3 separate regions of the Homo sapiens genome follow, and all the other regions are linked to region 2. Evidence: promoter capture Hi-C in human tissues and cell types (Jung and others, 2019). All regions are on one chromosome and are shown on one strand. Each heading gives the region's core, a stretch centred on a gene start or on the middle of the fragment in contact. The rest is flanking DNA. Distances are from core to core; before and after follow the strand shown. Region 1 has its middle 88 kb from the start of ZNF618. Region 2 holds the start of AMBP (alpha-1-microglobulin/bikunin precursor). Region 3 has its middle 120 kb from the start of ZNF618.

The links. Contacts are between HindIII fragments. The study calls those that stand out against the background at their distance.
Region 1: a fragment that was not itself captured here is called in contact with the fragment with the promoter of AMBP in region 2 in 1 of the 25 tissues and cell types used here (IMR-90 fibroblasts).
Region 3: a fragment that was not itself captured here is called in contact with the fragment with the promoter of AMBP in region 2 in 4 of the 25 tissues and cell types used here (H1 embryonic stem cells, IMR-90 fibroblasts, aorta and 1 more).

What each region holds. Positions count from the first base shown.
Region 1 is chr9:113,786,789-113,789,580 of GRCh38, forward strand. No RefSeq gene overlaps it. Among named protein-coding and RNA genes, the nearest start is that of ZNF618, 88 kb to the right of the region's middle. The HindIII fragment of the contact is 3,025 bases long and covers 1-2,782 here.
Region 2 is chr9:114,076,929-114,079,628 of GRCh38, forward strand. It overlaps AMBP (alpha-1-microglobulin/bikunin precursor), which reads right to left and starts at 1,372. Exons shown (of 10, transcript NM_001633.4): 1 at 1,165-1,372. The coding sequence starts at 1,281. The HindIII fragment of the contact is 16,108 bases long and covers 1-2,700 here.
Region 3 is chr9:113,759,172-113,761,871 of GRCh38, forward strand. It overlaps the pseudogene C14orf119P1. Among named protein-coding and RNA genes, the nearest start is that of ZNF618, 120 kb to the right of the region's middle. The HindIII fragment of the contact is 4,172 bases long and covers 1-2,700 here.

The sequences.
Region 1 (2,792 bases), core at 20-2,519, 290 kb before region 2:
AGGTACAGTGGAGAGAGGGCTGAATTGGGGTTTGAAAATGTGGCTTAGAACTGCGAAGTGACCACCCGCATGTCCAGGAGTCTGAGAACCAAGCGGACCTGGGTTTGAATCCCTGCTCCACTCTGCCATCTGCTTCCATATGCACTTGCCCAGAGGGTGCTTGGGAAGCCCAGGATCTGCCCACAGTGAGTGCTCACCTTGATACTAGGTTGCTAGTATTGAGGTGATACTAGTTTCAAGTGCTTACCTCGATACTAGGTTGCTAGTATCGAGATGCTACTAGGTGATACTAGGTTTCGAGTGTTCACCTCCATACTACATTGGAACATATTAAACTGATAGGTGACCAGCTTTAACCTACAAAAGGACCATTTCATATGACTCAACCTATGTAGGCATGGAGTGATGATAATTAGAAGCACTAACATTGAGAGCTTTCTAGATGCTCTAATCTATATGCTTCCAACAAATAACCTTCTTTAAACTTCAGTCCTACAAGGTCTATACCATTATTTTCATCCTCATTTTATAGGTAGGGAAACTGAGGCCCAGAGAGGTCAGGAGCCTGCTGAAGGTCATCTAGTTGACAGAGGGCTGAGCTGGGATATGAACACAGTCTAGCCTAAGAACTCCTGTCAATGATATACCATGATGTCACTTCTGCTTCACCTTCCCTGGGAGGACATTGTCACTGGAAAAGGCTAGAAAAGGCTCTAGATTTCCAGAGTGGATGGCCTATGTGGAGGGTAAATGATATACAAAGGAGATAAACTGCAAAATCTGAGCCCATCAGTGACATGAAATTTGCAAGAACTTGATTTCAGTGAGAATCTAGATAATTTACAGAGACTTCAAAAGTGGGGAATCAGAGTGTCTGGAACTTTTGCATAGGCAGAGGTGTTGGAGGCTCCCAGAAATGTTCTAGAGAGATCTAGAAGCCAGCCACAGCAATCACATCTCTAGAAAAGGCTCTGGATTTTAGGAAAAGATGCCTCTTTGGCTTGCTGAGCACCAGATATGGAAGCCTGCAAGTCTTAGAGGCCAGTACACAGGACCTAGGACAGAGCTGGTCTAAACGCAGAGGTGAGAGGTGGGGCCCGGGAAGCCGGCCTCACTTTCCTTCCTGGGGCCTCAGTTTCCTCTGCTGCTGAGTTGGTGGGTGGCCTCTCTCCACAGTCCCTCTGAGCTGTACCATCCTGTAATCACCATCCTGCAATCTCCATGCATTTGCACAGCCAAGGAGAGCCGGCAGGGGCTCTGGGGCAAGTCAGCTTGGATCCTAATCCGCTCCATCACTGAGCAGCTGTGTGACCTTGGGCAGGTGACCTGACTCCTCGGCACTCATTTCTTTATCTGCCCCAACAGGGGAGCAGTAATTCCTACCTCTAGGCTAGTAGGTTTGGTTAAACAAGAGGATTCTGTAGAGTGCCTAGCTACGAGAGGGGATGACAGAAGTAGCAGCTGCCGTCTCGATGGCCAGGTAGGCCTGGGCAAGGACAGAGGGAAGAGAGGAGAACAGAAACACCAGAATCCCGGGGAGTGTCCCAGGAGAGGAGACAATGGGGTGCTGGCTAGGACCCCAACTCCCTCCTTCCCCAGGGATTCAAATTTCAAAGCTTCACAGGACAGAAAACCACAGCATTCCTACAAGTGCCAGTGGGCTCTGGGCCCTTGCTCAGGAGCAGAAACCTGGGTTTGGAAAAGATTCTCAATTGCCCAGCGATAACCCCAAATAATCTCTCTTGAAACCACATATCATTTTCCTCTTAAAGAAACGCAATCTCTAATTAGAGTTTCCTCTGAACGTTTTCTCTTTGAAAAAAATTAAAAATGTATAAACCCTCCTGTATCGTGTATGTATATTTCATTGCTGCATAATTGGGATCTTTGTCAGTAACTGGGGTAGCAAGCGACAGCCTTTTAATCGGCTACAGATGCTAATGTAGAGAGAGACATTTTCCTCCTCTTTGCTCAACTGTTCCAGCCAGAGACTAGAGTCCTCCCTAATAAGTATTTATGTCAAAATCTTTTTTGGGGAGTGGGGGGAGAGAGAGCAGCTGTAGCATAGTTGAAAGACGTGGCTCTGATTACAGTCGCCAGCCAAAGGGGGGGGATCACTTTTAGAGTGAAACAGTGTTAATCAAGTTAATCACAAAACCCGTGCTATAATTGCTTCTGCTCTCAGACAAAATTTTACTTTTATCTAAATTACTAAAGTGAGGAGAGAGCAATCCGCTCTAATTTAGCTTTTGAGCTAAGGAGAAAGCGTGTGTGGAAGGCTGGAGAGGTTTTTAAACATCAGGAGAACTCATGCCATGGAATTCAGCTCTCCTCCTCCTTCCCTCCCTCCCTCACTACCTCCTCCCACCCTCCCTTCCTTCCTTTGAGACAGCTTAGTCCGATGGTTGAAAACTTGGACTCCTGGATCTGCCACTTAAGGCTGCGTTAACAAGTTCCTTGGTCTCTCAGTGTCCTCAGTTTCTTCATCAGTGAAATGGGGATGATCTGCCTCAAGATTGTGAGGCAGATTAAACAAATTGACGAGGATGACATACTTGGCGTGTGCTTGGCGTGTGCATGTGCACACACGCATACACACCCCAATACTCAAGAAGTGTTAGTTGGTATTGTTAGCCCTCCATTTTTCCTTCCTCTCTTCCTTCCTTTGCCTCTGCCTCCTCTCCTTCCTCCAACCCCTCTCCCTTTCCCTTCTTTCCCTCCTCTCCTCTCTCTTCTCCTCCTCTCTCTTCCCCTCCTCCTTCTTCTTCTCTCTCCCCTCCTGTCTTCTGACT
Region 2 (2,700 bases), core at 122-2,621:
TAAGAGTGGCGTTTCAGGCATCACAGCGAACCCAGGAAGCAGGTGTGCGGCTGGGGTCCCAACCTGCCCTGCAGAAGGGCTAACTCTCTCAAGATGTGGGATCTGTCCATAGCTCCATCAACCACTGCTCCCCAAGAGCTGGAGTCCTGTCTTTTACTCCTCCAATGATGGGGTGCTCCCCACCTTGCAAGGCAGCCCACAGCCCCATGTTAGGAATTATTTCAAAAGTATAATGAACATGATGGGGTCATTCAGGATAGGCCTGCTTCCTCTTCCTCCTGAAAGTGCACGGGACAGCTGAAGGAGCCCTCAGGCTCCTACGGAACAGGCCAATGTGCCCCACACCCTTTGCGTCCCAGACTGCCACAGGGACCTGCTCCTCATTGCCCCTCTGCCACGACCTTTCCTTGTCCCTAAAAGTAAACAAAACCCACATGACACCACAGCTAGAAGGTTCTGAGACCCTTCATACAGACATGGAGACAGCCCCAGGTGGGCAAGGGTATTCTCAAAGCCACCCCGGGATTTAGGGCAGAGTGGGGGCTGGAAGGCAGCTCTGGCACTCCACACTCACAGGAGAGTGTCCTGCCCCAGTCCAGGTCTCTCCTTGTGCCCAAGCCTCTGAATGTCTCCCAACCCTAATCTCTGTCCTGCTTCACCTCTTCCCATAAGCCCCACATGCCCAACCCAAAAGCTGCTGGCCACATGCCCACGCTGTGCCACCCCAGGTGTCTGTCCACAGTCAGGCCAGGATGTGGGCAGGGGACACAGGAAGAGCTAAGGGAAAGATGCCACAGAGAGAGGGGAGTCATTAGAGAAGGAAGGGCTGGGAGGTCTGGGCAAAGCTAGGTGTCTGCACGGGGGCTGCAGGGCAGTGGCAGGCAGGACAAAGCCTTCTCTGGAGCAGGTTCCCATTAACACAAGGGTTCCCCTTGGAGCCCACGAGGACAGTGCAGAAGGTGAGGATGTTTGACTCATAGAATGTCAGCCAAGAGACCCACGGAATGGCAGGGGATAGAGCTGTACCTTCAAAGGATCCCATAATCCCAGATGATCTGAGTGGAAGCCTGAGACCCCGAGACAGGCCGCACTTGCCCAGCAGGGCCCATCTGCCTGGACTCCCCATCACCACATCCACCCTACCACAGAGAGCGGCAGCCTTACCCGAGAGATATTGAAGTTTTCCTGCACTTGGATGTTGTCGGGCGGCGTTGGCACAGGGCCAGCGCTCACCGCCAGGCAGGCGCTCAGCAGCAAGAGCAGGGCCCCGAGGCTCCTCATGGCTATGGGCTCCTCTGCCTTGGTATATCCCACAGGCTCGGTCTAGCAACAGAAGGGCCACCGCCTCCCTGCAACAGGGCAGCTGTGAACTGAGGCTGGGGAAGGGGCCTGTGGCTTGTAGTTGACCTCAGTGTTTGCCCTGCTCAGCTGGGGCCAATTACAGCCCCAAGGACAGCTCCAATCGATCCCTGTAGCCTGGCTGGGGTCAGCAGTACCAAGAGGCCGGGATGGCTGCTTCAGAAGAGGCATTGGCCAAGCACAATAGGGCCCTGGAGCACCAGGATTGGGCTCCGCCCCCCAAAAGTCCCCCACAGAGGGCATGCGAGGATGGGGAGCGACCTGGCCTTTCTGCTGAGTCATGCCATCTGGACCTCACAGCTCTGTGAGCCAGCAGGTCAAGCCTGATTGGGCCCATTTCTCACAGGAAAAAACTGAGGCCCAAGGAGAGGAAGTGACTTGCCAGAGACCTCAGGGAAGTCTATGGGCAGAGCCAAGACCAGAACCCAGGTATCCTGTCTCCAGAGTTCCTTCTCCAGCCCCCAGGCTTGCCCTAGCCTTTGCAAATAATAGAGACATTAACAATGATGACTGTTACGAGCTTCCGTTCACTGAGCACCTGCTATGTGCTGGCTGTGTACCAGGCACTTTACACGTGCCACAGGTGTCCAGTAAATCCCCACAACAAGCTTACGAAGTAGGTGCTATTTGTCCCCTTTACAGGCAGAGGAGTTGAGTCTCCAAGAAGTGAAGTGACTTGCCCAGAATCCCTCAGCCGGGAGTGGAGTAGCTGGGAAAGGCGTGGTAGAGACCATGGACGTGGGAGCCAGGCAGCCTACAGTGGCACTCACTGCTGTGTGACCTTGGGCAAGTCACTTTACCTTTCAGTGCCTTGGTTTCCTCATCTGTAAATGGGGATAATAATAGTTCCTAGCTCCTAGCATTGTTGAGTGAGCACCTGCAATGCGCTAGGACAGTACCCAGCATAGAGTAAGAGCTGAGTGTTTGTGGTGGGTTGAACAGTGCCCCCTCCAGAATCCATGTGCACCCCGAACCGCAGAATGAACCTGATTTGCAGATGTGATTAGTTAGATGAGGTTGAACTGGATGACAGGGGTTTTAAATCCAATGACCGGTATCTTTATAAGAGAATGGTGAGGGAGACTCAGACACAGGGACACAGAGAGAAGCACGGGGAAGATGTGGCGTGACGCCGAAGGCAGAGATGGGAGGGATGCAGTGACACGTCAAAAATCACCAAGGATTGATGGCAGCCACCAAAAGCTAGCAAAAGGCAAGGAAGGACTTTTCCCCAGAATCTTCAAAGGGAACATGGCTCTGCTGAAAATTTGGTCTCAGGTGTCTGACCTCCAGTGCTGAGAGAAGACACATTTCCTAGCAGCCCTAGGAAACTAATACAGT
Region 3 (2,700 bases), core at 80-2,579, 320 kb before region 2:
ACACTAAGCTGCACCAGACTATTTGGCAGTGGCTGTACTTTTCCTGGCACTGCCTTAGCTACCAGGTCCTCCAGGAAACGTTCACACTGGGGACCTGACTAATTGGCAAATCAGTGAAGAATACACTTCATCTCCTGGGAAGTGATGTAAGACATTGGAGAAGGGGAAGAACTAATATCGTCTGGTACTGAGGGTAAAAGAGAAGGGAAAGATAGTGGCGTTGAAAGGGAAGATGACTCCAGTGGCATCCTCCCCTTTTCCCTCAGAAGGCACCTGGAGATTGTCACAAGAGTCCTTAGATTCCAACTACTGCTGCAGCTTCTAGGGATTACAATTTGATATGAGATTTGGGTGGGGACACTGATCCAAACCATATCAGTCATGTTAATAGTATGTACCCTTAATGTGATGTGATGAAAATGTCACTTTGACTCTGTGCTTTTCTTCCCCCAAGCTTTATTCTAATTGTGAGGGGGAAAGTTATATAAATCCTAATTGAGAGACATTCCATAAAATACCTGACTAGTACTCAACACTGTCGAGGCCAAAAAAAAAAAAAAAAAAAAAGAAAAAAACAAGGAAAGTTTTAGAAATCATCAAAGCCCAGAGGAACCTAAGGAGACATGGTAAATAAATGTAATGTGGGATTCTGGATGAGATCCTGGAACAGAAGAAGATAAAAACCAAAGAAATCTGAACAAAGTAGGGACTTCAGTTTAAAGTAATGTATCAAATTGGTTCATTAATTCTAACAAATGTATCATAATATATAAAATAATAGGGAACACTGGGTATGGAGTATATGGCAACTCTCAGTGTTATCATCACAATTTTTCTACAAGCCTAAAACTATTTGAAAAGCTAAATTTTATTTAAAAAAATTGAACACAGCTTCAGGGACCTAGGGCACCAGAGCATAAGGTCTAACATATGTATAATTTGAGTCTCAGAAACAGAAGAAAGAGAGAATAAGGCAAAACAAAAATTGAAGAAATAATGGCTGAAATTTTCAAAAATTTGGTGAAAGATATAAATTTACAGATTTAAAAATCTCAGTGTATTCTAATTATGAATATGAAGAAAAGCACATCTATGCATAGCATAGTAAAACTGCTGAAAATGTATATATGTATTGGCAGGTGGCAATTTATTACTTTAATGTTTATATAGAAAATAAGAAATACTAAAAATAATAAAAAGCAAGTAAAGGAGGAAATAATCCAAGCACAAAAATTAATAAAATTGAGAAGAAATATATAATAAAGATTGAAGAGACTAAGAAAACCTCTGGCAACCGATGAAGTAAGGAAAGGGAAGACACAAATATGAAATATTATAAATATAAAAGAACGATAGCCACAGATGTAACAGACAGTACCACAAATAACTTTATGCAAAGAAAATTGAGTGCTTAAATGCAATGGACAACTTCCTATTAAAGTGTTATTTATTATCATTGAATCAAGAAGAATAGAAAACTTGAGTAGTTTATTCCATCTGAAGAAAGGGGATCAGTAGTTTAAAATATATTTACCTTCAAAACACCCATCCTACACAATTTAAGCAATGAGTTCTAACAGTCTGTCAAGTAACAAACAATTTCAACCTTCCACAAACTCTTCCAGAAGCTAATAGATTAAGAAACGCTCATCAATTCATTTTATGAAGGTACTAAGTCCTTGATGCAAAATAGACATGCACACCATGAGGAATGTAAGTTACACACCATTCTCATTCATTAATATAGATGCAGAAACAAAAATATTTGCAAACCATATGTGTATATGTATATAAATGCATATAATCATTATTAAATTGGTTATATCTCGGGAATCCAAAGATGGTTCACATTAAAGGAGAAAAACTCATGGTCATCAGCACATGCAGAAATCATTTGAAAACATCTAACGGTCATTTGTATTTAAAAAAAATTGGGAAAGAAGAAACAGAATTTTCTTAACTTGATAAAGGGATAAAAAACATACAAAAATATACAGCAAACATTATATTTAATAGGAAAATGTTAGAAGCAATTGATTTAAATTCAGGAAAAGGCAAGGGATCCAACAGCACAGCTTCCATTCAGCATTGTACTGAAGACTCTAACCGAACCTCTAAGACAGGCAAAAAAAAGGTAAAAGGTTTGGAAAGGATGAAAAATAAAATTTGTGGAGTAAATTATTATAGATTAAGACAACATAAGAGACTCTTCAAATATTATAATTAACAAATTTTGCAAGGTTTCTGGATATAGAGGTCAAAACTTTAAAATCATTCACTTTCTGTGCACCAGTCACAGATACTAGAAAATGAAATTTTAAAGGTTTGTGATATCTTAAGGGACATAAGAAGCATAAGAATAAATCTAACCAAATATGAGCATAGGATTTGTGAAGAAATGTTTAATCCTTTATTGAAAAAAGTTAGAGATAAGTCTAAATAAAGGGAGATATATACCATGTACATAGATAAGAAGACTCAATATTATAATATTGTAAATACTCTATAAATTAATTCATAAATTTAATGTACTTCCAATTAAAAGCTTTATAGTATTTTGTGGAGCTTGACACATTGATTCTAAAAATTTATAGCAAAAATCAAAGAGCCATGATAAGATGAGTTTAAAGAAGAGCAAGTTTGAAGGGATTTGTTCTGGTAGGTATCCAGTCTTCTTACATGGCTACAGTAATTAAGAGT